Linked DNA regions of Homo sapiens: all the other regions are linked to region 2. The links are contacts of gene promoters, found by promoter capture Hi-C in blood cells and fetal thymus (Javierre and others, 2016). All regions are on one chromosome and are shown on one strand. Each heading gives the region's core, a stretch centred on a gene start or on the middle of the fragment in contact. The rest is flanking DNA. Distances are from core to core; before and after follow the strand shown.

What was found. Contacts are between HindIII fragments. The CHiCAGO score rates a contact against its expected background, and 5 or more counts as called.
Region 1: a contact is called between a fragment that was not itself captured here and the fragment with the promoter of OR5B21 in region 2, in 4 of 17 cell types (total CD8 T cells, naive CD8 T cells, naive CD4 T cells and 1 more). The highest score is 9.3, in total CD8 T cells.
Region 3: a fragment that was not itself captured here is called in contact with the fragment with the promoter of OR5B21 in region 2 in 1 of 17 cell types (naive CD8 T cells); the score reaches 5.8 in naive CD8 T cells.
Region 4: a fragment that was not itself captured here is called in contact with the fragment with the promoter of OR5B21 in region 2 in 2 of 17 cell types (naive CD8 T cells and endothelial precursors); the score reaches 8.0 in naive CD8 T cells.
Region 5: a contact is called between a fragment that was not itself captured here and the fragment with the promoter of OR5B21 in region 2, in 1 of 17 cell types (total CD8 T cells). The highest score is 5.8, in total CD8 T cells.
Region 6: the fragment with the promoter of SLC43A1 here is called in contact with the fragment with the promoter of OR5B21 in region 2 in 9 of 17 cell types (megakaryocytes, naive CD8 T cells, activated CD4 T cells and 6 more); the score reaches 13.5 in megakaryocytes.
Region 7: a contact is called between the fragment with the promoter of SMTNL1 here and the fragment with the promoter of OR5B21 in region 2, in 4 of 17 cell types (naive CD8 T cells, naive CD4 T cells, non-activated CD4 T cells and 1 more). The highest score is 9.6, in naive CD8 T cells.

What each region holds. Positions count from the first base shown.
Region 1 is chr11:57,680,618-57,683,460 of GRCh38, forward strand. ZDHHC5 (zDHHC palmitoyltransferase 5) reads left to right here. Exons shown (of 12, transcript NM_015457.3): 3 at 1,805-1,926. Among named protein-coding and RNA genes, the nearest start is that of ZDHHC5, 14 kb to the left of the region's middle. The HindIII fragment of the contact is 2,243 bases long and covers 246-2,488 here.
Region 2 is chr11:58,506,726-58,509,425 of GRCh38, forward strand. It overlaps OR5B21 (olfactory receptor family 5 subfamily B member 21), which reads right to left and starts at 1,380. Exons shown (of 1, transcript NM_001005218.3): 1 at 82-1,380. The coding sequence starts at 1,380. The coding sequence ends at 451. The region is part of intron 2 of LOC105369313 (a long non-coding RNA gene); the gene reads right to left. The HindIII fragment of the contact is 6,996 bases long and covers 237-2,700 here.
Region 3 is chr11:57,624,388-57,627,087 of GRCh38, forward strand. No RefSeq gene overlaps it. Among named protein-coding and RNA genes, the nearest start is that of MIR130AHG, 13 kb to the right of the region's middle. The HindIII fragment of the contact is 8,519 bases long and covers 1-2,700 here.
Region 4 is chr11:57,659,896-57,662,605 of GRCh38, forward strand. It overlaps CLP1 (cleavage factor polyribonucleotide kinase subunit 1), which reads left to right. Exons shown (of 3, transcript NM_006831.3): 2 at 1-187; 3 at 870-1,970. The coding sequence ends at 1,541. Among named protein-coding and RNA genes, the nearest start is that of CLP1, 3.5 kb to the left of the region's middle. The HindIII fragment of the contact is 2,449 bases long and covers 174-2,622 here.
Region 5 is chr11:57,581,979-57,584,855 of GRCh38, forward strand. No RefSeq gene overlaps it. Among named protein-coding and RNA genes, the nearest start is that of SERPING1, 14 kb to the right of the region's middle. RefSeq lists a silencer at 428-595. The HindIII fragment of the contact is 2,742 bases long and covers 1-2,742 here.
Region 6 is chr11:57,514,200-57,516,951 of GRCh38, forward strand. It overlaps SLC43A1 (solute carrier family 43 member 1), which reads right to left and starts at 1,503. Exons shown (of 15, transcript NM_003627.6): 1 at 1,245-1,503. RefSeq lists an enhancer at 1,657-1,726. The HindIII fragment of the contact is 5,778 bases long and covers 1-2,752 here.
Region 7 is chr11:57,536,106-57,538,976 of GRCh38, forward strand. SMTNL1 (smoothelin like 1) reads left to right here and starts at 1,490. Exons shown (of 8, transcript NM_001105565.3): 1 at 1,490-1,537. The HindIII fragment of the contact is 14,036 bases long and covers 410-2,871 here.

The DNA.
Region 1 (2,843 bases), core at 117-2,616, 830 kb before region 2:
GGAGTCAAGTGAGTCACCCTTTCTCTTCTTCCCCAGGCGGAAATTGAAGTGACAACTTAGTACTAGGGAGGGGCTCTGACCTGGATGACTGGTTTTCAGTTTCTCTCCCTCCTTCTTAAGGAACCTAGGAGGTCAGGCTTTGGGGTGAGGCGGTGCAGGAACTCTTCTTTTTGCTTATATTCCACTCCAAACCCTGCCAATGTATGGAGACATCTTTTCTGAACCAAAGAACTCACAGAGGAAGAAGCTTCCATGGGGGGCTTTCTTTGAGGATAGTATAGAACTATGACTGAAGGTCTGTTTAGTCCCTAAAATTGATGCCCTTGCTCCAGCTTCGTTATTTTGTCTGCTAATTGTGTACTGACATATCAAGAGAACCAAACAGCTAATGGATATTTACTATCTAAAAAGCCTGGCATATAATAAATACTAAAAACTTTTCAAAATGAATGGCTGAATGGAATTTGAATAAATAGATGGTGGTGGTAAAGATTTGTGAGATGCTTTGTGACAGTTTTGTCTCTTATCTTGATTTGCTTGTATCTCGTTAAGGAACTGAGTTCCTCCAAACTGCTCTGAGTCAGTCTCAGGGCTGTGCTTTTTGTTTTGGTGGGTGCAGATACCTTTTCTTCACAGAATCCCAGACTGCTGTGGTTTAATTCTCTGGAATCATATGCTGTCTTGTTCTCCTGTCCTCTTCTTCCTTTCCTTCAGTGAGTTCTTCCTTTGCTTTGACTGGTTCAGATAAAGGGGACAAGGACAGATGCTGTCCTCATTCTGGAGATTAAGTTCTCAGCCACAAAGTAGATTAGAGTATTTATCCACTGTCTTGGTAGTGGGAACTTCTCCCTGAGCTGAGACGAGAGTGTTTGATACTACTGACAAAAAAGTAGCACATCAGGTTCTTCCAAAACTTCCAGCTCCCAGGAAATCAGCAGAGAAAGGAAGAGCTCTTGAAGCATTCCTACGTAGATTCAAATCCTGAAAGAAACTGAGTTTAATTCTGGACTAGAGAATTGTTTTTTTGATCAAGAAAAGTTACCTTAAAGCATATCTTGAGTTGACTGCTGTGGAATACTGGGTATGTTTGGGTAGTTTCTTTTTCCTACAAAATTGAGGGCTTCTTTGGTCTGATAGTCTCTATCCTCCCCCATTCCTGCTTCATTTTTAGACATCAAAGGGTTTACTTCTGTGTCTTGATATCCATTCTCATCTGTGTGTTTTAAAAGAATTTCCCAACCTTAAGAACTGGCCTGTAGTTGAGTAAACTCTCAGGCATATCCAATGCAATGGAGATACTTTAGGCACTTATGTGGTTCAGTCCCCTGGCAAGGGGGAGGCGGGGGCTAGAAAGGTAGGTGGTATCCCATGCTTTGGGCCAATGTGCAGGTCAATGGGACATAGCTGGGATCCAGAAACCTCAGGCTGCTCCAGAGAAGGGAGTGTAGCTGATATCATAGTCAGTACCTGGTTCTCATGTCTGGTTAGAAAGGAGATAAGGACAGATCTCAAAACATGTGGCAAGATCCACAGGGTAGGAATGAATCTGAAGCACAAAGACCTTAGTGCAACAGGTTAAGATGGGAGAGATTCTGAGTCTTGTACTTTTATCTAAAGTGAGCAGTTCCCATAGGAAACTAGACTCACTTAGTGGGAAAGATAAAGATAATAATTTGGGATGGCAAAGGTAAACCACACAAGATTTATCTATAGGTAAGGGGCTAAGTCTTTACAGATTTTTGTATGTATGGTTCGTGTCCAAAATATTAGAGGCAACCCCTCATTTTCTTTATTGTCTGTGCAGGTGTCCAGGACTAAGCCTGTATGTGTCACCTGCAGTGCCCATCTACAATGCAATTATGTTTCTCTTTGTGTTGGCCAACTTCAGCATGGCCACCTTCATGGACCCAGGGATTTTCCCTCGAGGTAAGATCTGCTTCTCTCTTAGAAGCACCTTACACTGCCTTTGAAAAATAATGAGTTGGCCATACACAGTTGATCTTGGGCCTTAAGAGTCCTGGGATTTTGGGATATGAAAAATAATGATTTGGGCATACGCAGTTGATCTTGGGCCTTAAAGTCCGGGGATTTTGGGATACTTTTATCATTTTCTGATGATGAAAATCAGGTCAGGGTCTTTAGGAATATATGTCATAACTTCTAGTCCTATGATTCACTTTGGGTCAAATCTTTGAGTTTTAGTGATTTGTTCAGCAGAAATTTATTTAAAGCATATGGGTTGGATGCTATTTTTAGGTACAGTAATACCCACAGTGAATTAAGACAGTTATGACAGTGTGATGCAGACTATAATGGAGGCAAGAGCAAGGTTCTGTGAGAATACAAACAATTGAGAACAAAGAAATATGAGAACATATTTTGCCCAAATAAATTGGGGAAATGCTGCTGAAAATAGGTGGGAAAGACTTTACCAAGTAGAATATAGGAGGGAAGGGCATTTTTAGGCAGAGGAAACAGCACATGCAGAAGCTTGTAGCCATGAAATGGCAAACTTAGTGGGGCTAGAGGATGTTATGCATGGTGTGACCAGAGGGATGGGAGGTAAACCCAGAGCCAAATTGTCAAGGACTTTACATACTAAGTTAAATAGATCATACATTTTCCTTTGGATAGGAAGAGGTCTTTAATTGGAGGACTCAACATCAGAATTCCTTTTAGAAAAATAATTCGTGTAAGAATTACAGCTACCTTTTGGGAGGCTGTGGAAATAAACCAGATGAGAACTTGAATTCAAGGCTGGATTTACAGATTTTTTAGTAGTAGACTCAATAATTTTTCATGACTTTTCATGATTTTATTGGGCAAGAGAGAGAAAGTGGAGG
Region 2 (2,700 bases), core at 130-2,629:
AATATTGAAACATCCTTTGTCTACCTCAGAAAGTCCAACTTTCAAACTCGCAGAACAAAAGAATAAAAAAGATACTGTGTGTTCAGTTGATAAAAATGAAGGTGAAATCTTTACACCAAGTTTAATAGTGAATGAAAAATTCTTACAATTAAAAACAGGATGAGGAAAATTTGGTACATTCATTTGTATGCTTCAATCTTCTGCTTTAAACCACGTCAAGAAACTAAAGCAAGAAAAGCTTAACTGTCCCATGTTGTTGTTCACTAAATATAAGATTATCTTTCTAAGTAAGACTTTCAACGTGCTGCTTTTTACATCTTCTAATAGCAGAAGTAACCGCTGTTCTTGGGGAAGAAAGAACTGAAACCAGTCAAACGTTAAAAGTCATGATGGCATTTAGGTGTGAGAGAAAGTTTATCCCTTAATTGCTTGCCTACTTCCCATTCACATTTAATATTGGGGGTAAAGTTTGTTGAGTATTTTCCAGAGAGCACTTTTCACTTCTTTGTTCCTAAGGCTGTATATCAAGGGATTCAGCATGGGAATCACCACTGTGTAAAACACAGAGGCTATTTTGTCTGTGTCCACGGACTGGCTGGAGTTGGGCTGTAAGTACATGAAGATGATTGTGCCATAGAAGATGGACAAAGCAGTGAGATGGGAAGCACAGGTGGAGAAGACTTTCTTCTGCCCTTCAGCAGAATGCATCCTCTGAATGGTGATGCATATGAAGAAGTAAGAAATAAGGATGACCAGGAGGGTGAAAAAGACGTTGAAGCCTGCCACAAAGACCACCAACTTGCTGATGCGTGTGTCAGAGCATGAGAGAGCCAGGAGTGGGGGAATGTCACAGAAGAAATGATTAATCTCATTAGAACCACAGAAGGAGAGTCTGAAGGTGCCTGCTGCATGGATAGAGGCATTGAGGAAGCCAGAGACATAGGAACCAGTAGCAAGGAGGGCACACACACCTGCTGTCATGGTGGTGGTGTAATGAAGAGGCCTACATACCGCTGCATGGCGATCATAGGCCATGGAGGCCAGGAGGTAGCACTCAACAGTGGCAAACCCCACAAAGAAGAAGAACTGAGCTGCACATCCATCGTAGGAGATGGCCTTGTCCCCTGACCGCAATGCAGCCACCGTTTTGGGGGCTACAGCTGATGAGTAACCCAAGTCTACAAGGGAGAGGTTACTGAGGAAAAAGTACATTGGAGTGTGGAGATGGGAGTCTGAGTGGATGATCACCATCATTCCCCCATTCCCAAGCAGGGTGATGAGGTAGATGAATAAAAATGCCAGGAGGAGGGGTATCTGAAGATTGGGGTCATCTGTTAATCCCAAGAGGATAAACTCTGTCACTTCTGTGCTATTCTCCATTGTGGCCAGCTTGAATTAGCCTGGTGATTAAAGAAGAGGCGTCAACAAAATTCCAATGAAAGTATGAGAAGGGAGGATGGAATGATAAAAAAGGAGAAAACTAATGTATAGAGAGAATGTACTGTGTGTAACACTCATCCTAGAACCCTCTGTTATATTATAGCTTTTAATTCATATGAGATAGGTGCTATTATGCCCATCTTACAGATAAGGAAGTTAAGGCTCAGGGAGCTGAATATTGAGCAAGATAGCCTATCTAGGGGTCAGAATCAAAGTTCACCCCTTTATATTTCTGAATCTAAAGTTCATACATTCATCTTGAATTCTTTAACACATTTACATCATATAAATACAAATTATGATGTGGATATAAGATTGTATGTATTTAATTATTAAAAATAAAAACATCCATCACTTATTGTCTTCCACATTCTACTTCCAATAATATAGCCTCACTAAAGATTTTCTAAATTTATTTTTCCTTAAAACAACACAAGTTTATTCTCTCAAAATTCTGGAGGCCAGAAGCCTCAAATCAGTTTCACTGGGCCAAAATCAAGGTGTTGGCAGGACAAGGTGGTGCCCTCAAGGTCTGTTTGATACTAAATCCAAAGATCTTAACCACAACTTTTGAAGCCTTTATAAATTAATCCCTCAACAGTAGTTCAACTGAAAGGGAGTATGGTATATGTAAATATGAGTATGTATTTATATATATTTAATATAAAACTATAAATTTGATATATACAAATGGCTTTGTGTATCTGTGTATATGCATATGTCTTTTTTCACCCCTTATCAGAAGTCTTTGCTGTAGACCCTAATTCCAGTTAAGTCCTCCTTTCTCTCCCTCCTCAAAGCACTTGAGTCTTGGCTGATTATTGCACAATTAGCTGGGCAACCACTCACTCTTCACCTAGCTCTAAGCCCCTTGGGACAGTAACTATCTTCATCCCCTCTGGTCCACTCTCCTTACCATGGCCCCTCACACATGTATGTAAATATTTGGTGAATCAAACAGAACATCAATAGGAAAGTATGGAAATATTTTTCATGCTCTTTAATCCCACAACAAACATCCTATCATCCTCTTGTCTACCAGGTTTGTGCTTTGGGCCAAAATATTAGCTTAGACTTGTCATATGAAAAATATTCAGGAGTAACAGTGAGTTTGCAGATGGTCAGGCCTGGAGACAGGTTTCTGTCCTCATTTTAGAGCATTCTTTCTCTCCTATTTTTGTTCCTCAACCTGAGGTGTTCACAGGCTTTCCCCACTCCTAGTAGCAGAGTGAGTGGGAGCAGACTCAGAAGAAGTGAGGG
Region 3 (2,700 bases), core at 185-2,684, 880 kb before region 2:
CTAGGAGGCAGGGACCGTATCTTTTTGTCATTATCCTCTGTTCTGAGCATGGAGCCTGGAACCTACAGAGTTGACACTCAGTACATATTAGCTAAAATAAAATGAAGCAAAACAAAACAGAACAAAAATGCATTTCCAGATCCTATTTATTTATTTATTTATTTATTTATTTATTTATTGAGACAGAGTTTCGCTCTGTTGCCCAGACTGGAGTGCAGTGGCACGATCTTAGCTCACTGCAACCTCTGGCCTCCTGGGTTCAAGTGATTCTCTTGCCTCAGCCTCCCAAGTAGCTGGGATTAGAGGCACACGCCACCACGCCCGACTAATTTTTGCATTTTTAGTAGAGACAGGGTTTCACCACGTTGGCCAGGCTGGTCTCGAACTCCTGACCTCAAGTGATCTGCCCGCCTTGGCCTCCCAAAGTGCTGGGATTACAGGCATGAGCCACCAGCCTGGTCTCTACAGATCCTGTTCATTTAAATGCTGCCATTCTTCTAAGCCCAGTGCAATTCTCCAACAGTGTTTTCTGCTTTTCCCAGCCAATAGCACCTCCTCCATCTTTAGACATAGTGCTGAACTTACACTGCCATGTAAAATCAGTAGCATGTACACAAATATTTGGCTTTCCCCTCCAACCACTAGGAAACTCCTTGTGAATCTGATTCAGGACATCTCTGGTCCCACCTATGCCTATAAATGGTCAGCAAACACTTTTGATTCAAAGTGTGCAGTGTCTATATTTGAGCAAAGTTTTGTTTTGTTTTGTTTCGTTTTGTTTAGAGACAAAGTTTTGCACTTGTTGCCCAGGCTGGAGTTGGCACAATCTTGGCTCACTGCAAGCTCCGCCTCCTGGGTTCAAGCAATTCTCCTGCCTCTGCCTCCCAAGTAGCTGGGATTACAGGCACCTGCCACCATGCCCGGCTAATTTTTTGTATTTTTAGTAGAGATGGGGTTTCACTACGTTGGCCAGGCTGCTCTCAAACTCCTGACCTCAGATGATCCACCCGCCTCAGCCTCCCAAAGTGCTGGGATTACAAGTGTGAGCCACCGCACATGGCCAAGCAAAGTTTTTTATTTTACAATGATGACATTAATGTTATTCTTATTTTATGTATCTCCTCTGGAGACTGGTGGAGCTAGGAATACCAAAGCATAGCTTCTCATAGTCATTATCAGCTAGGGTTTTGCCTTACAAATTATCTTTCAACTAGAGGAATTATACCTCTGTGTTTGGATGTTCTTTCCTCCTCCCTGCTGCCCCGTGTCTTTGATTCTTGGGATCAGGACTCCATGGCTTTAGTCAGAAGGGGTGAAGATGATTCTTACCCTTTAAGTAAGTAAGCACCTGGAGTCTGGAATTGTTCTAGGATTAAACAAGGCCACAGCCCTGTGAATTGCCTTATCTACTCAAATAGGCCGTCTAAAGAGAATCTATACTTTGTTATCGTCCTAGAGGCCTTCTTGCTTTCCACTAATTTATACATATTATCTACTGGCCAGGTGCGGTGGCTCACGCCTGTAATCCCAGAACTTTGGGAGGCCAAGGCGGGTGGATCACCTGAGGTCATGTGTTCAAGACCAGCCTGGCCAACATGGAGAAAGCCCATCCCTACTAAAAATACAAATATTAGTCAGGTGTGGTGGTGCACACCTGTAATCCCAGCTACTCAAGAGGCTGAAGCAGGAGAATCGCTAGAACCTGGGAGGCCAAGGTTGCAGTGAGCCGAGGTTTCCATTGGTTACTTGGTGTACGCCTTATGTAAATGAAGAGGATGAAGGAAAGTTACAAAGTCATTTACTCTGTGTACACCCTATGTAAACAAGAGGATATTTCCTGTCACAGCTGAAGTGTTTCCATTTGATTTAGTTCTAGAAAGTCCTTAGGTTCTCTGCCTCCAGGCCCTATTCTCCTGCCTCAATCATAGATCACTGCAGCCTTGAGGTCCTGGGCTCAAGCTCAGGTCCCACCTCAGCTTCCTGAGTAGCTGGGACCACAGGCCCGCACCACCATGCCCAGCTATTTTAATTTTTTTTTTTTTGAGATGGAATCTTGCTCTGTCGCCCAGGTTGGAGTGCAGTGTTGCGATCTCGGCTCACTGCAACCTCCGCCTCCTGGATTCAAGCAATTCTCTTGCCTCAGCCTCCCGAATAGCTGGGACTACAGGCGCCCACCACCACGCCCAGCTAATTTTCGTATTTTTAGTAGAGACGGGGTTTCACCATATTGGCCAGGCTGGTCTCGAACTCCTAACCTTATGATCCGCACGCCTCAGCCTCCTAAAGTCCTATTTTTTTTTTTTAAGAGGCCAGGTGTGGTGGCTCACACCTGTAATCCCAGCACTTTGGGAGGCCAAGGCGGGTGGATCCTCTGAGGTCAGGACTTCTGCCATTTTCCCATTCATTTATTCAAGTTTTAATTGAGTACTTACTTGTGCTAGGCACTGTTGTGGCAGCGGACAAACTGTTCAACAAGACAGAGCTCTTGTTCTCTGAACTTTAATGGACTGGTAATGTCTCCCTTCACTTCTCTCCATGTGATATGAAGTGTCCCAGTGTGTGTAGGGGATGTGGGAAAACAATTGAAATGTGGGGAAAATTTTGAAATGTGGCCGTGGAAGACTGATTTTCTCTTGCCTAAGATTTCCTTAGAATGTCCACTTTGGAGTAATGTGGGAGACAGTCCTGCCCTGGCTTATC
Region 4 (2,710 bases), core at 148-2,647, 850 kb before region 2:
TTTGGGCCGCCGTCCCACTTATGTGGAGCTGGATGTGGGCCAGGGTTCTGTGTCCATCCCTGGTACCATGGGGGCCCTCTACATCGAGCGGCCTGCAGATGTCGAAGAGGGTTTCTCTATCCAGGCCCCTCTGGTGTATCATTTTGGTTCCACCACTCCTGGCACTAACATCAAGCTTTATAATAAGGTCAGAGCCAGAGAAAGGTGGGGTGGAGGGAAGGGCTGCTATCAGGGTAGGAAACTGGAGAAGTTTACTAGTTAACACTGCATTTTCTCAGCTGGTATTTCTGCTGCATTACTTTAGAAAGGCAATTCCAAATATGTCAGTCTCAGATTGTTAAACATTTCTGTGGATCTATTCTTAGTAATTTGTTAGATTTTCACTTAGGGCATAAAACAGGAGGCAGAAGCAGCAACATAAAAATTAAATCCATGTTATGGTATCAAAACTACAGCCATTAAAAATGTCATTTTTTCAGGCTGGGTACAGTGGCTCATGCCTGTAATCCCACAACTTGGGAGGCTGAGACGGGTGGATCACCTGAGGTCAGGAGTTGGAGAGCAGCCTGGCCAACATGGTGAAACCTTGTCTCTACTAAAAATACAAAAAGTAGCTGGGCGTGGTGGCTGGTGCCTGTAATCCCAGCTGTTCAGAGACTGAGGCAGGAGAATCACTTGAACGCGGGAGGTGGAGGTTGCAGTGAGCTGAGATCGTGCCACTGCACTCCATCCTGGGCAACAGAGTGAGACTCCATTTCAAAAAAAAAATCATTTTTCTTATATCTAATAGCACTTATTCTAAAGAGGAACAAAGTAGCCATGGGTTTGTCTGGGTGTTTTTGTTCTTACCTTGATCCTCTCTTTTGCAGATTACATCTCGTTTAGCAGATGTGTTCAACCAAAGGTGTGAGGTGAACCGAAGGGCATCTGTGAGTGGCTGTGTCATTAACACCTGTGGCTGGGTCAAGGGCTCTGGTTACCAGGCTCTGGTGCATGCAGCCTCAGCTTTTGAGGTGGATGTCGTTGTTGTTCTGGATCAAGAACGACTGTACAATGAACTGAAACGGGACCTCCCCCACTTTGTACGCACTGTGCTGCTCCCTAAATCTGGGGGTGTGGTGGAGCGCTCCAAGGACTTCCGGCGGGAATGTAGGGATGAGCGTATCCGTGAGTATTTTTATGGATTCCGAGGCTGTTTCTATCCCCATGCCTTCAATGTCAAATTTTCAGATGTGAAAATCTACAAAGTTGGGGCACCCACCATCCCAGACTCCTGTTTACCTTTGGGCATGTCTCAAGAGGATAATCAGCTCAAGCTAGTACCTGTCACTCCTGGGCGAGATATGGTGCACCACCTACTGAGTGTTAGCACTGCCGAGGGTACAGAGGAGAACCTGTCCGAGACAAGTGTAGCTGGCTTCATTGTGGTGACCAGTGTGGACCTGGAGCATCAGGTGTTTACTGTTCTGTCTCCAGCCCCTCGCCCACTGCCTAAGAACTTCCTTCTCATCATGGATATCCGGTTCATGGATCTGAAGTAGAGATCAGCAGGAAGCCTTGCTGCCTGGGACATAGAGATCATCTGGCCACCCCTAGAGGCAGATGGGCTGAGATAAAAGACTGTTGGGGCCACCTGACCAGTAAACTGTGGACTAGTAGAAAGTTCATATTCTACCTCTAAAAACAGGTAGTGGTAACCTGACTCTTCTAATCTTGAACCAAAAGGAAAACCATGAGACTGTAATTGGTTTCTTAGACCACCTAAGATGCCACTTTGAATTCTCTAAGACCCTGGAGAATTGCATTTCTTTCACTGTGCTACTATGTGGTTTTTAAAAAATCAATGCTTTATATTCCATATGTGGTTCTTACCCATTTATCTAGGATGAAAGTGTGAATTAGAGGGACTCCTTCCAATAAAGTTCAAACTTAAAAAAAATCATTTTAATAAATATTTTTGCCATATCATAGAAGTTGGTATAATTTATTTTTTTCCCCTAAGCGTTATAGAAACATAATTGGAATGATTTATTGCTAAAATGCTTGGAGGAGGGGAAAACCAAGAAACCTACCTGTGAGCCACGTCAGGTTTTTTTTTTTGGTGGTGGTGGTGGTTGTTTTTGTAAGAGTCTCACACTGTCACCTGGGCTGGAGTGCAGTGGCGTGATCTTGGCTCACTGCAACCTCTGCCTCCCAGGTTCAAGTGATTCTCCTGCCTCAGCCTCCCAAATAGCTGGGGTTACAGGTGCCCGCCACCACGCCCAGCTAATTTTTTGTATTTCTTTTAGTAGGGACAGGGTTTCACTATGTTGGCCAGGCTGGTCTCAAACTCCTGACCTCATGATCTGCCTGCCTCGGCCTCCCAAAATGCTGGGATTACAGGTGTGAGACACTGTGCCCGGCTGTGAGTTCTTATGATAGTTCACCTTTCCTCTGCGCTTAGGTAAGTAGATGGTAAATCTGCTGTCAGTGCTGGATTTACTGTGGGGAGTTAGAGGCTGGTGATAATCTTGGAATGAGATTTCATATCTAATCATTTTCCAGAGATAGCTCATTTTCCTTCCAGTACAGCTATCCTTGTCTATTTGATTGGAACTAGGCCCTAAGTCAAAGTGTAACTTAAGCTTTCAGGTGGTAAGAAACTGGGAAAGCCCATTCTTTTTGATCTCTTGCAAATGACTGTTTGGTGTCCCTGGTTTGCACTTGGATT
Region 5 (2,877 bases), core at 122-2,621, 920 kb before region 2:
AGCTTTACTACAGAGATGTCAGCAGGCAGAATCAGCTAGAATTTAGTAACACCATTCTGTTTTTGCTGCGTTTATTTTACAGGTGCATTCATTCCAGGGCTGCATTTGGACTTTCATGGGCCCTAAGCACTTTCGCCTTGGTGTATCTCTTTCTCCATAGTGAGACCCTATCTCTAAAAAAAAAAAATTTAAAAACTAACCGTGTGTGGTGGCATGTGCCTGTAGTCTCAGCTACTCAGGAGGCTGAGGCAAGAGGATTGCTTGAGCCCAGGAGGTCGAGGCTGCAGTAAGCTGTGATTGTGCTACTGCACTCCAGCCTGAGCAACAGAGTGAGACCCTGCCTAAAAAGAAAAATTTTTTTTTGAGATGGAGTCTCACTCTGTTGCCCAGTCTGGAGTGCAGTGGTGTGATCTCAGCTTGCTGCAACCTCCGTCTCCTGGGTCCAAGCGATTCTCCTGCCTCAGCCAACTATCCTGAGTAGCTGAGATTACAGGCGTGCATCACCACCCTCAGCTAATTTTTGTATTTTTAGTAGAGACGAGGTTTCACCATATTGGCCAGGCTGGTCTCAAACTCCTGACCTCAGGTGACCCGCCGGCCTCGGCCTCCCAAAGTGCTGGGATTACAGGCATAAACCACCGTGCCCAGCCAAAAAACTTTTTTTAAATTATACCTTATGATTGCATTGGTATAAATAAGAATATAATCCTGGCTAGATTCATTATTATTATTATTACTATTTTAGACAGTCTCGCTCTGTCACCCAGGCTGGAGTGCAGTGGTGCGATCTCAGGTCACTGCAACCTCCGCCTCCTGGGTTCAAGCGATTCTCCTGCCTCAGCCTCCCGAGTAGCTGAGATTACAGGCGTCCACCATCACGCCCGGCTAATTTTTTGTATTTTTAGTAGAGACGGGGCTTCACCATGTTGGCCAGGCTGGTTTTGAACTCCTGACTTCAAGTGATCCACCCGCCTCAGCCTCCCAAAGTGCTAGGATTACAGGCGTGAGCCACCATGCCCGGCGTTTTTTTTTCTGGTTTTTTTTTTTTGAGACAAAGTCTCACTCTGTTGCCCCGGCTGGAGTGCAGCAGCATGATCTCGGCTCACTGCGACCTTCACCTCCCAGGTCCAAGCAATTCTCATGCCTCAGCCTCCTGAGTAGCTGAGATTACAGGTGCCCACCACAATGTCTGGCTAATTTTTGTATTTTTAGTAGAGACAGGGTTTCACCATGTTGGCCAGGCTGATCTCAAACTCCTGACCTCAAGTGATCCATGCCCTTGGCCTCCCAAAGTGCTGGGATTACAGGTGTGAGCCACCACACCAGGCCTTATTATTTATGCATTGCTATTATATTTATTTTTTTCCTCCTAATTTGAAAAGAAATTACAATTATAACATTTCCATTGGTCCCCGAAAAGCCAACAGACTCAAGGTCCTGTGCCTGGTTGGCCCTGATCCATTCTATTTATGGAGAGTGCTGCCATTTCTCCATTTATAGAGGAGACGTCATTTCCTTTTTATGTGTATTCAAGTAAACAAAAATGAGTCCATTAGACAACATGAAACCAAATAATAGTACATGGGGTGGTAATAATATGGCAAAAATGAAAGCCCTTCATTTTACAGAGGAGAAGAGACTGAGGTCTAGGGATATAACACCTTGTGGAGGTGGGACAGAAATTCCTAGGCTGTCCAGACCCTTCAGGACACTTTGCAGCTCCCCCCAGCACATTCCTGGGAAGGAGATGATCCCTCCCTAGCAGCCAGGGACCAACTCCACAGTGATGCGGGAAGCTCCCAAGTTACCCCACAGCCTGCCCTTGCCAAGACCTAGGCCTAGGTAGTCGGCTTCCCAGAAGACTCTTGGAGAAAACTACTTCAGAATTGGGTTTTGCTTCCATCAGATCATGCTTTGAAACCATTCAAAGGCCAACAAAGGACAAAGTCCCTTTAAATCCAAGCTGACTCACCTTGTTAAAAAAAAAAAAAAAAAGAGGCTGAGCGCAGTGGCTCACGCCTGTAATCCCAGCACTTTGGGAGGCCGAGGTGAGCGGCTCACGAGGTCAGGAGATTGAGACCATCCTGGCTAACACGGGGAAACCCCATCTCTACTAAAAATACAAAAAATTAGCCAGGCGTGATGGCGGGCGCCTGTAGTCCCATCTACTCGGGAGGCTGAGGCAGGAGAATGGCGTGAACCCGGGAAGCGGAGGTTGCAGTGAGCCGAGATCATGCCACTGCACTCCAGCCTGGGCGACAGAGCGAGACTCCGTCTCAAAAAAAAAAAAAAAAAAGAAAAAGAAAAAAAATGAGGGAGCTTTGAAGAAGCGTAAATTAGCATTCAAACTAGGGGGCTTCTTCAAAGGCCTGAAGACTGACTCCTGTCACCCAGGTAGCCACGTCCTGATCAGAGGACACATCCCTGAGATAGAAAGCAGGGCCCCTGACTTCCCCATCCCCCCGGGCTTTTTGTTCTGTCTACTCTTCTATTTTAACCTAACGGAGAAGAGGCTGAAGAGAAAGTCCAGAGGCCTAGCGGGAGAGCTGGAATCCACCAATGGGTGCGCTTTCCGGGTCGGCTTTCCAGGTCAGCTATCTGGATGGCAAATTAGAATGGCAGTGGCAGATGAAAGTGTCCCCTGTGAAAATGCGGACACAGAAAGAGTCCTGTGAGTTAAGAGCTTTGCCACTAGTCTAAGCTGTTCTGTGGCCTGAAGCAGAACCCAGAAAGGCCCTACGAAGCTTCTGACTACATGAAAAGACCCAGCCAGGTTGGAATCCTAAATGAACACTAAACCGAGCAAGTAAACCTGGGATGAAGTTAAGCAATGACAGAATACAACCAGGGGCTGGAGAGAAAGCATCGGTCTGGTTC
Region 6 (2,752 bases), core at 253-2,752, 990 kb before region 2:
GAGACCTCTCGGGCCAGCCCGCGAGGAGCCCCTCATGGAGGCCCCATAGAGCCCTGGGCTTCCCAGCCGGTGCCAAGGAGCTGGCTCCGCGCGCACTAGCAGTGCCAGAGGTGCACGCGGCACGGGGCTCCCGCTGAGCCACTATCGGAAACAAGGAAGGTCCTGTCTGCGCGCTGCAGCTTCCTAGCAGGCTGCCGGGTTCTCTCACCCAGGCCAGGGCGCTCAGGGCCGGGCTGCTGGGGAGAAAGTCCGCATCTGCCCAGGTCCCCAGAGGACAGCAAGGGGCAGAGCGCGCTCTGAAGCACCGCGGGCCCATGTCCGGACTCTCGCGCCAGGAAAGACCCCTAGAAGCTGGCAGGAAGAAGGGCAAGTTCAAGGCTACCCTACGACCCCATCTTCCAGTTGCCCCTCCAAGACCTCTCCTTCCCTCTGGGGCCGGGCGACAGCAAGCCCTCCCCCTTTCCGTATCAGGTGACCCACGACCCTACAGTCTCTCGGGCCAAGCCAACAGCTGCCACGTGGAGGGAGACCCAGGACGGGCTCTCCTCGGTTCCCTCCTCCCCCGCGCGCCCCTCACTCACTCCGCAGGGCTCGGGGCACCAGGCTTTGCACCTCGGAACCCGCTTGCCCCCCTCCAGCCCCGGGAGGGGGCTCGGACTTCGGCAGGAAGTCTGGCGGCTGCTGACTTTATAAGGGCAGCGGTGGCGGATGGGCTGGCGGGCGGGTGTGTTTACCAAAGGGAGGGAAAGAGCCCCAGCTCCCCCCGCCGCGGCCGCTGCAGCCTCGGCGGGAGGAGAGGGAACGCGGGCGGCGCGGGGGCGGGGAGCGACAACTGGGATGAGACCGAGGAAAGCGGAGAGGAGAAGGGCAAGAAAGACCCAGAGAGAGGGGAGGAAGTACCAGTCACTTCTTCCAGGGGGACTCGGTATTCTCATCTGTGAAACGGGGCTTTGGGTTCAAGCGCTCCAGGAGGTCCGCTGGAACTCTGGCAAACGCGCAGCTCTAAGCAGAGGAAGTGCAGCGAGCGGGGACCCGGGAGGAAGAGAAGAGTCGGAGGGGTCAGAGAAAAGAAAAGGGAAGGACGCGCTTGGCGAGATGGGACACTGTGCCGCGGGACCGCGGGCGCAAGTAACGGTCTTTCCTTGGGAAGCCTGGCAGTGTCGGCGGGAGCCGGCCTCGGTGTCTCTCAGCCGACGCATAGCCGGAGACCCTACGCGCGCCCCCTCCCCGCCCACGCTGCTCACCTCCGGTCACCGGCAAATGAGCAGCCAGCAGCTGCGGACGCCTCCGGGAGCGCAACGCTTTCGCGGCGCGTCCGGAGTCCCGTGGGCCCAGCCCTGAGCCGCGCCGGCGCTGGGGTCTTCTCTGCGTGCAGGACCCGGCGGCCACGGAGCTTCAGCCTGACAGCCCGGTGGCCTCGCCTCCGCTGTCTCCTCGGAAGAAGCGGGGGAACTGGGAACCCGCCGGGCGCCAGAGGTCTGCGAAGCTGGGCTTGGATGAAGTGGATCTGCGGAGTTGATAGTTGTATTTACACGCGTCCGGAGCTGCGCCCCGAGGTGGGGGCGGGGGCTCCCTTCTTTTCCCCTCCCCTTAGGTCGAGTTTCACGCGCACGTGACTCGCCCGCTGGTCCCGGACACTCTCCCTCTGGCACAGCCCCAGCACCTACATTTCCACCCTGGACCCCCATCTTCTCCCCCAAGCCCCCAGACTAACATCAGGCAGCGCCCTCTGTATCCTTGTTCAAAACAAAGTGCGATTCGGCTGAAGCCGACTGACCGCGATTCAGGGCCGCCTTGGGTGGGGTTTTGAACTGTGCAGCTGGAAGCAGTGTTTTCCGAGAGGCAGAGTGGCACGGGTTTCTTTGGAGTTAGTCAGATCGAGGTCTGAGTCTTGACTTTTTAACTGACTACCCTGGGTTACCTAGGGCAAGTTACCTCTCTGAGCCTCAGCTTCCTCCTCTTTAAATTCGGTTAAAATGGAACCTACCTAACTGCCCAAAGGAATCGCGATTGTGATGCAGGTAAAATGCTAAGCATAGCATTTGGCATAGTAAGCATAATGTTAATTGTTGCTGCTGTCATTATTTCAGAAGACCTGGTGATCGGATGCTTCCAGATCAACAATTGATTGACTCCAGGTAAATCTCTCAGCCTCCCTGAGCCTCAGTATCCTCATCTGTAAAATAGACTACTATGGTGTGGAGTAATGAGAAGTAATCTCATTACATGTGAGTTTAATTGTGTGTTAAGAGTGCTGCTAATGCATGCTGAGCTTAATACCTAGGTGATGGGTTGATAGGTGCAATAAACCACCACGGCATACATTTACCTACGTAACAAACCTGCACATTCTGCACATGTACCCCAGAACTTAAAATAAAAATAAAATTTTTTTAAAAAAAGAGTGATACTGGTGGCCAGGTGTGGTGGTTCATGCCTGTAATCCCAGAACTTTGGGAGGCCAAGGCAGGAGGATCGCTTGAGCTCAGGAGTTCGAGACCAACCTGGACAACATGGTGAAACCCCGTCTCTACAAAAAAGAAAAAAAAATAGCCAGGCATGGTGGTGTGCACCTGCAGTCTCAGCTACCCAGCAGGCTGAAGTGGGAGGATCACTGAGCTGGAGAGATGGAGGCTGCAGTGAGCCAAGATCATGCCACTACACTCCAGCCTGGGTGACAGAGTAAGACTCTGTCTCAAAAACAAAACAAGAATGACTACAGAAAGCTCCAAGAAGGCCTCAGATAAAAGGG
Region 7 (2,871 bases), core at 240-2,739, 970 kb before region 2:
ATTTCATTCAGTATGTATTTATCAAGTACCTAATATGAGCCAGGCAATTCTGCTGGGATCTAGGCATACAGCCATGAGTATGGTAGATAAAATCCCTGCCCTCATGGAGCTTAAAGCCTAGTGAGAGAGTCAGATAATAAGGAAATGAATAAGGTAATTTTAGATTTAGTATTATGAGGACAATAAAAACTGCTGAAATGAGGGAGAGGAATTGAAGGTCATGGAAAACCTCTCTGAGGGAATGAAATTTCAGCTAAGTCCAGAAGAATGAGAGGGAGGCAGTCTTACAAAGAGTAGAAGGAAAAACCAGTCCTGAGTCTGAAAAGGGATGGATTTATTTAAGGAATAGGAAGGAGGCCAGTGTGGCCCAGTGGTGGGGCTTGGGGTAGGAGGACTGGGGGGGATCCCAAGCTTCGTGGGAGTGTCCTCTGCACCCATTCTCCAAAAGTAGTGCCTTTCTTAGATTGTAAAACACACAGAGAAAGTGAAGACTTTTTTTTGAGATGGAGTCTCTGTCACCCAAGCTGGAGTGCAGTGACTTGCTGCAACCTCTGCCTCCCAGGTTCAAGCAGTTCTCGTGCCTCAGCCTCCCAAGTAGCTGAGATTACAGGCATGCGCCACCAAGCCCGGCCAATTTTTGTATTTGTAGTAGAGACAGGGTTTCACCCTGTTGACCATGCTGTTCTTGAACTCCTGGCTTCAAGCAATCCACCCGCCTCGGCTGCCCAAAGTGCTGGGATTACAGGCATGAGCCACCATGCCCAGGCTTGTTTTGTTTTTTTCTTAGCAAAATGTCAGTTCAGTATAAAAATGTGTTCAGAGCCTACTGTGTACCTGTCACTTCAGCTCAAAATAGAACTCAGGAGTTTTGTATTTTCCAGGCTCCGTCCAGTGATCCGTCAGCTTGTCCCATCACTTTTGCCCTCTCTGCCCCTCCCCCTCCAAATCTCTCAGTCAACTGTGAGCCCCAAGACACATCCCCTGTGTTGGCAGCTGCCCTACTCGCCCCCTCCTTAGCCCAGCCTTAAGCAGCTGCTTTTGTCTGAGGACGAGGGAAAGGGGCTATGTAAGGAACGTGGCGGGGTGGGTGTGAAGGGAGCACAAGAGGCCTCGCCTGGGCTCTGGATGAGCAGTGGAGGCCAGGGCCATGCTCTAAATGAGTCCTGAAGATGGTTGTCAAGGTCCCTAGGGTTAGGAGAGTCCACTGGGGAGAAAGATGACCACAGGACGGATGCTGCCAGGCTCAGGGCGGAAGGGACGTGCCGTGATTGAAAGGTGCCACCTGTCAGATCTTCCACGGGAAATCCGAGCCTCCCAGTCTAGGGTAAAGTGTTGTACCAACAGGCCAGTAAACAATGCTCTTCAGGCAGCCCAAGACTCTTGAAGTGGGGGTGGGGTGGAAGAGGGAGAGGAAGGGGGGAGGCGGGACCAAAGAGCTGGGGGCTAGAGGCCACTGGGGCTTAAAGGCAGCCTGGGAGTGAGGCCACTCAGCTGGAGCAAAGAGACAGCTCCCAAGCCACAGGCAGAAGCCCCACAGGTAGGAGAAGCCCTGGCACCCTTTCTAAGGGTCCCTCCCCATCTGCCAATTCTCACTCCCACTGTCCAAGGGCCAGAGCCTCCCAGGAGGGCCCCCCATTTGGAGAAATCCAGGCTCCTTTCTAATTCTCTCCACCACAATGTCTACTCTCTTTAGATGCCTGGGGTCTCAGCCCTGCACCAGAGCACCTACAGAGCAGACTGCAAGTGGCCATCCACGAGGAGGCCACAGAGCAGGGGAGGGGACCTTGGGAGTCTCAAGAGTCAAACTGGGTTGGGGGGTAGACTGTCTAAGCCAAGCCTGTCCAGCCCACAGGCTACCTGTGGCCCAGGATGGCTTTGAATGTAGCCCAACATGAATTCATAAACTTTCTTAAAACATTATGAGATTTTTTTTTTTTTTGCAATTTTTGTTTTAGCTCATCCACTATCGTTAGTGTTAACGTATTTTACATGTGGCCCAAGACACTTCTACTTCTACCAGTGTGGCTCAAGGAAGCCAAAAGATTGGATACCCCTAGTCTAAGCAATTGAGGTCGGCCTCTCCAAGGGAGGGCCCCTGGCTGAGTGGGGAAGGTGGAAGCCTTAGGACAACCAGATGACAGATGAGGCTGCAGTGGGTGGCAGACGCACCACAGAACATCCAGTGTTTATACTACTGGGAGTTTGGATCTTGGGCTCCTGGGTCCCTTTCCTCCTGGTCTGCCAGAAGAAACAGGAAGAGAGAGGGAGGGGAGATATCTGCAGTGCTGCTTTGGACACAAAACAGGGATGGTTTGGAGACTTCCTGGGGAAGGAAGGAGGAAGGAAAGGAGAGAATAAGAAAGGAAGGTGGGGGCAGAGAAACTTTCATGAAGGGCCTACTGTGCACCTAGAAGAAAGAGGGAGGAACTCCTCGGCTGAATCTGACTGCCCTTCCCAACTGGTGGGGTGCCCCCACTCTGGGCCAGGGCCTTTGTAGGGACACTGGGCTGCGGAGCTAGTGGGAGCATATATTTGATGTGAGCTCTGGAGTGGAAGTTGGGATACTTGGATTCTAGATAGAGAGCCAGGCCACTTGTCCTATAACTTTAGTCAAGGGACTTCAACTCCCTGAGCCTGAAATCCCCATTGGCTCCCTAATGGGGCCAATAACCTATTCTGAAGGGTCGGAGCAAGAAATGACCAAGAGAAAGCAGGGCCTCCGCAGCATAAGCTGTAAACTGCTGTAGGGCTGTGAATGCTGGGGGTGGGTGGTGGCGTCCTGGTTTCTCAGCATTCTGAGCATCTTCACTCCTTTTCTATTTGTGACAAGCCTGGAGGGTGGAAAGCTGAGGTGATAAACACGCAGGATAG